Regions from separate parts of the Homo sapiens genome. Here region 2 is linked to region 1. Evidence: promoter capture Hi-C in human tissues and cell types (Jung and others, 2019). All regions are on one chromosome and are shown on one strand. Each heading gives the region's core, a stretch centred on a gene start or on the middle of the fragment in contact. The rest is flanking DNA. Distances are from core to core; before and after follow the strand shown. Region 1 holds the start of ALDH1A3 (aldehyde dehydrogenase 1 family member A3). Region 2 overlaps LOC105371024 (a long non-coding RNA gene).

What was found. The method cuts DNA at HindIII sites, captures the fragments that hold promoters and counts their contacts. A contact is called where the count stands out against the background at its distance.
Region 2: a contact is called between a fragment that was not itself captured here and the fragment with the promoter of ALDH1A3 in region 1, in 4 of the 25 tissues and cell types used here (IMR-90 fibroblasts, bladder, lymphoblastoid cells and 1 more).

What each region holds. Positions count from the first base shown.
Region 1 is chr15:100,877,914-100,881,214 of GRCh38, reverse strand. It overlaps ALDH1A3 (aldehyde dehydrogenase 1 family member A3), which reads right to left and starts at 1,384. Exons shown (of 13, transcript NM_000693.4): 1 at 1,209-1,384. The coding sequence starts at 1,307. It overlaps LOC124903575 (collagen alpha-1(I) chain-like), which reads left to right and starts at 1,412. Exons shown (of 1, transcript XM_047433433.1): 1 at 1,412-2,269. The coding sequence starts at 1,412. The coding sequence ends at 2,194. RefSeq lists an enhancer at 338-852 and a silencer at 1,344-1,463. The HindIII fragment of the contact is 10,500 bases long and covers 200-3,301 here.
Region 2 is chr15:100,762,125-100,765,280 of GRCh38, reverse strand. The region is part of intron 2 of LOC105371024 (a long non-coding RNA gene); the gene reads right to left. Among named protein-coding and RNA genes, the nearest start is that of GCAWKR, 86 kb to the left of the region's middle. RefSeq lists an enhancer at 1-459. The HindIII fragment of the contact is 4,110 bases long and covers 1-3,156 here.

The DNA of each region.
Region 1 (3,301 bases), core at 135-2,634:
TAAATGTCTTGTGATCAGAGGCTCAGCCGACATTGGGAATTAAGTGCCAAGAGACCCAAATCTGAAGGCCACACATAGTGCCCTGCAACTTTCTCCGCTTGATTAAAATTCTTTGAGAAAGATAATTGCTACTTCTTAAAGTAAAACGGATGAGGAAATTCTCTAAGTGCGGTGTCAGCTGGAGTTGGGGGCTATGGGTAAAAGCAAAAATCAAGAGAAGCCAAAGGTGGGGAAAGTTAAGGCAATGGCTCTCGGCCTGGCCTGTGCCTCTAAAGTGCCCCAGCACCGGCCCACGACAGACGCGCACGCCAGACAGCCTGGGGGTGTCCTCCATCGGGTCGCGCTCCCGGACCCGGGTCTCTCGGCCCTCCTCAGCCCCAGCTCAGAGGCCTCGGAGGCCTCACCATCTTCTTTTATTCCTTTCTGCCCCGGGCAGGTAATCTCGCCGTTCTGCCAACGCTGTAGCCTCCCAGCCCACAGAGCGAGGAGGCAGAGAACCGTGCGCTTCTGCGGCCTCGCGACCCACCGCTTCCCAAAGGCCCAGGTCTGCGACCTTCCGGAGCGCGCGCCTTGTGTGTAAACACCGGGACCTCTGGGCTCCGGGGAGGTTTCGTCAGTAAGCGAGCACCTTCCTACTCCTCCTCGTTCTGCTGCTGAGCCGGGTATAAACTAAGCACGGAAGGCGCCCGCTGCGCTTTGCTCGGAGGACCCGCTTCCCCAGTCTTCCAACTGCAGCTCCGCCATCTGCCTCCCGGACTCTCTCTTGGCGCTCTCGGACCCTCCGACCCTCTCAAAGCCAGACTCGTCCACCCTGGAAATCATCGCAGGGGTTTTTGGGGAGGGAGCTCCCCAAAACCAGCGCGCTCCGAGTCAACGCGGCGCGCACCTCCACTCGCGATCAAAGCGGGCAGCGCAGGGACACGTCGGGGCCTCGCAGGGATGCGGGCGGCCCGGCCCCGCGCGGGCGCTGGACGGCCTCGGTTTCCCGGCTTCGAGGCTCACAGCGCCGAGCCCCGCCGCCTGCGATCCCGCCCGAGACGTCCCGCGAAAGGTGCGGTTTCTGGAGAGCCGCGCCCGGGCAGGGAGGCTCGGGTCTCGGCGGCGCCCGGCGGACCCCCGGCCCGCTGCTCCCTCGCCCCCGCCGCCCCGAGTCTGGCTGCCCAGCGCAGGGGCCCGCGGCCGTCGGGTGGGAGGGGCGCCCGCCTCACCTTGGTGAACTTGACCTCCAGGTTGCGGATGGGGCGCGGCAGGGCCGGCGGCTTCCTGTCCGGCTGCCCGTTTTCCACGGCCCCGTTAGCGGTGGCCATGGCTCCTCCGCGCTCCCTGGCCCGAGGCGCCCTAGTCTGCGGCGCACCGGCTCGGCCCGGACACTGCGCAGCCCGCTCCCGGGGTGGCAGCTCCCCGCCGCTTTATGCAGCGCCCCACGCCTCCCGCCCGAGGGGGCCGCCTAATTGGCTGCGGGACCGGAGGAAGGGAGGGCGGGCTGCGGGAGGGAGGAGAGGGGAGGGCGGCCGGCCCGCCTCACCCCGCCCCGCCCGCCGCCCCTGCGGGAGCCCGAGCGCCGGCGGCTCCACCCGCGTGCCGCGGACCGTCCCGGCGCCCGCGCCGCGCGCTCTCTCGCCCCGGAGGCTGCCTGTGGACGAGCTCCCCGAGGAGCCGCCGGGCCCCGGAAGTCGCAGGGCTGGGACACCCGACCCGGCAGGGAGCTGAGCCGCGGGGCCACGGCGCCCCGCTGCCTCCCCGAAGTCGGGCGGGCTCCCCGCGCGGCACATGCAGCCCACTCCCAGCCGCCGCACGGCGCGCTCGCCCGACTTCGGCCGGCTCGCGGCGCTCGGGAATGCGCGCTCTCCGCCGGGCCCTGCGCCGCGCCCGGGTCGGGGCTCCTGGCGGGGCCGCCCCGCGTCGCTGCGCACGTGCCCTGCTCTTGGGTCCAGCCGCCCGATCCCCGCTAGCAGGACAGACGCCCGCTGCGCCCCACCCTGCCCGAGCGCGGACAGCCGGCGGGCGCACCCCGGCCCAGCCGGCCTGGAGTCTCCCCGGGGCCCTGGGGCTTCGCCCGCGGTGGGGCAGAAGGCGAAAGCAAAGCGCCGGACCCGGGCGGCTCTCCGCCGAGGAGCCCTGGCGCCGCTGGGCCTCTGACCTTCGCAGGCGCACACCGCCTTCCATCCCAGAGCCCGGGGGGCAATTGATCTGATTTTTTAAATGCATAAATTATACCTCGATTAAAAAATGATAATTAAAAAAAAGCACATGAGACCTTTGCTGCTAATCGTTTTAAGAGTTTAAATTCTTGTCGCGCATTACTTCCCAGGAGGGGGAGGTAAGTCTAGCTCCTCTCCTTTTGCGATTTGGGAAACGCTCCATCAACTCCCAGGACTTGACCCAGGCCCCATCTGAGACACGGAAGCGGCTTCTGATGCATGCCATTCCTCAGGTCGCTGGAACAAAGACCGGAGGCACGGACTCCTGACAAAAGCTGTGCTTTAATCCTCAGATAGGCTCAGCCCCTTCAGTTCATCTCTTTCTGTAGGTAACCCCAAGTAATCAACAATGGGGAGGGGTCTCCTTATTTTCCTGTTTTGAGGCCTCCGTGTCCATCTCTCTGTCCCCTGGTGTCCTTCTGGATAGAGCTGGATAGAGGGGTAAGTTTTGAAGCTTTTGGAAACCCCACATCTGACCCTTACCCTGGGGTTGTGGAAAGGTCTTGTGCTGTTATGGCCTGGAGTGCACAGCTGAGGCCGGGGAAAGGGGATAATGGACCCTCGAGCGGGGCAGCCTTGACCGATATCGGCTGGCTAACACTGGCGAGTCTGAGCAATGCCAGCTCTTTCCTCAGCTGCTTCTGCAAATCCGGGGCTCCCTGCCCTCTTGGCTGGCCCCATGGCTCCCACTCAGATCTCCTGAAAACATCTGGGCAGATGTGCTATGCCACGGCCCCCGGCTGGGTGCTGAGCCCTAGCGTTTGGGTGCCTGAGCCCAAGAGGACCGTCAGGGAGTAGTGACAAACCCCTCCTGCATGGATGGAGGCCAGGGGCCCAAGGCCAGTGTGTGCAGCAGGCCCCAGGAAGCTGCAACTAGAGATGCTTTACAAACTGAACTCCCATCCTGAGACTTTATCGGGGGTCCTTGATGGTTGAAATTATGTCACTGCCAGGATTTTAAAAAAAAATCTGAAATAAAATTTATAGAGGAAACTGTGTTAATTAAATAATTGCTGGATTGATGGGGGAGGCAAATGGGGTTGAGCTTAGAACTCTGCTCCTTTAGGGAAGATAGTCGAGCCTGTTTGGTCAAAGATAGA
Region 2 (3,156 bases), core at 534-3,033, 120 kb after region 1:
GAGAGCTCCCCCAAGGCAGTGGAGAGATCTGGGGCCATGGGCGGCAGCCACACCGCACAGTGCGGGAGGTACACTCTGGGTACAAGTACCTCATCCTGCAGGGTTTAGAGGGCCTGGAGGTCAGACTGGCTGAGCACAGGGCTCTGGGCGTTGGCAGTGTGTCTCACATACATTGAGGCTGATACTGTTGGTGGAACTGCAGAGCTGTAGATCCAGAGGCTGCAAAAGGGAATGAGGTTCTCTCAGCCAGCAGGCCCCTAATTACAGGCTGCAGGTGAGTGGAAGAGCTTCATGCTGTGAACAGGCTCCAGAAAGCTTCATTCTTTATACTGGCCAAGGGGAGAAGGAGGAAAAGGAGGCCGGCCCGGGGATGCTAGATTAGACAAGCCTGTGAGGTTCTAATAATATAAACACAAATCAAACCGTCTTAAGCAAAAAGAAACATTGATGAATGTAATTAAAATGTTTAAGGTGTAGCTTCAGGTATAGCTGGATCCAGATGCTCTAACAGTGTCACCAGGAAGCTGTCTGTCATCCTCTAGCTCAGCTTTCTTTGGCTTTTGGCTTCACTCTCAGGCAGCTCCTTCCAAGGAGCAGCCCTTGACCAGCTCCTGGGCTACATCAGCGGCTGCAAACAAGCCCAGAGGCTGCTGCTTACCGAGTGAACTAGGCCGCGTGTTTGTCTCCAAACTAATCACATCAGTCGGGCTGGACTGTGCTGAGTATTTCAGCCTCACTCACATCCTTCTCCTGAGTGGAGGCATCCACGCAAGGCTGCAGAACCACGCGATAGAATACAATCGTGATGGGGTTGACACCCCAAGGAAATGAGGCAGCTGATACCAGGAAAGAGGAATGAACACAGGGCTGGGTCCACCTTGCCCAGGTCACTTCGGCACCCCATCCCTCCATTTCCTCATCAGCAAGAAAAGAGGGGCCGTAAGGCCCACCTCCCCAGGTGGGCTCCACGTCTAAGCCCCCATGGCCCCATGGGTCAAGTGTGAGTTGTAAGGAACTGGGGGTGAAGGGAAGGCCCGAGCCAGGCCTCCACACCGGCCACTTCTCACTTCAAGTTCAGTGAGTGAGATGAAAAACACCACAAAATGAAGACAAAGGCTCTATTGCCTGCCCCTGGCTTCTCCTCACACTTTGTGCTGCCTGGGCCCCACTGGCCTACTGTCAGCTCCTCTTCCTGCCCAGGGGACTTCAGCCAGACTTCTTCCCCTGCCGGGAGGCCTGTTCACCCCTCTAGCACCCACTGCCTGCCTGGATGCAACCTCTTGAAGGCATATGAGAGGTGGCCTTTTCACATCTGTCCCGTTGCCGGGGAAGCCGGGATGGTCATCTGCTCCTCAGGTCCCTTGGGAGGAAGGCACGAGGGAGCTGCTGCTGACTAAAGCTGGAGGAGCCGTTCCCCCACCCCACAGGCTCCCTTGTCAGTCATTCCTCTTTGCCTGTAGCTCTTCCTCCCTTCCAGCCAGACTCAAGGCTGGGGCTGACTGTCTCAGGGAAGGGAGACCCGGAAGAGCCCAGTGAGGCCTGCAGGGGAAGCCTCGACCCATGGAGTCCAATCCTGCTCTCAGAAGCACACACAAGGATGATAGCTTTGAGAGGACAAAGGCATCTGGCACTTCCTGCAGAAGAGGAGGGAAGAGTGTGGGATAGGATGACAGGGGGGTTCCTGCTGACTGAGAGGCCCCAGGATCAGGCCCTGCACTGTGGGATGACTCACCCCACTTTCCAGGGGTCAGAGATACCTCATGGTAGGTTGAGGGATGCCAAGGCAGAGGAACTTGGACCCCCTTTTTCCTCTGAGACTCTGTGGCCTGGCTGGTGGCCATCTGGAGAGACACGGTCTGGAGGAGACTGGGACAGAGGTGGGGTGGCACTTGTCCTCTGCAGAGCTGAAATGGCCTGGGGGGCACTCACAGCTTTCTGGGGCTCCTAGGAGCGAGGTGGAGATGGCTAAGAGTTGGCAGTAGAGGACATGGAGTGGGGGCCCCATTCAGTGAGGATGTGCAGAGGTTTGAAGGCTGGCCTGCCACCTAGATGGCCCCTGTCCCATGCCAGGGTGGCATGGAAGCTCCCTGTCAGCACTGGACTTCCCCAGGGATAAAGGGCAAGGAGAGGGGGGGAAGAGACTCCGGAACTCATCTGATGGGTCAACACTCACAGGTCAGGAAGTGTCAAGCGCTGGGCCTCCATTCGGTGCTGCTGATGTGTGTGTCTGCCCTCTGCCAGCACCACGCTTGGTTTCTATAGCTCTGTAGTAAGTCTCAGTACCGGGTATGTGGTTTCTCCTACTTCATTCTCCTCTGTCAGAGATTGTTATCTCGGGCCTTTCCTTTTTCATATATATTATAGAATAAGCTTGTCTGTATCTGTAAAAACCTTGCTGAGATTTTGATAGGAATGGTGTTAAAACTGCCGTCAGTTTGGGTAGAAGAGACATCTGTCGTGCTGAGCCTTCGAATCCATGAACCCTGACGTGTCTCCATGCGTTAGGTCTTCCTTGATTTCTTTCATCAGTGGCTTGTAATTTTCATCACACAGACTCTTATTTTTTAAACTCATAAAAAGATTCACCTAGAGCTTTCCAGGTTCACTGTAGCATCCTCTTTGTCTTTGTTCTTGCCGTCTTGCTGAAGGCAGTACTCCATCCCACTAAGGACACCTCGTTGAGCTCCAGGTCCATGTAATCCACGCCAAGTTGTGACTATGCGCAAACTTATCCACCTCCGGGGGTGGGGAACACATCCTGCTGAGGCAGCCCCTCCTCCGACTGTGCCCGCCAGAAAGTTCTTGCATGGAGTACATTTCTGCACCCAGGCGCCCTGGCTCTACCCCAGGGCCACCCACCCACAGTTCGAATCCCTGACTTTCTCTGCTTTGCAAACCTTTTGTCTCTTCTCTAAGCCTCAACTCAGAGCACTCCGCTGGGTATTTCTCAAAATTCGCCTCCCTGCGCTGACTGGTCCTCATCTTCTTTCAGCTCCTGACACTGTCAATCTGTTTCTGAAACACACATGAAACACACACTCTCTCTCTCTCTCTCCTCTTCTTCCTTTGTCTCATCACCCCACATTCCTTTCTCTTCCTCTCCAAGCCCGTCCCACGTCCTGGCTGCCCTCACAGGTGACAGCTGAGATCTGACTT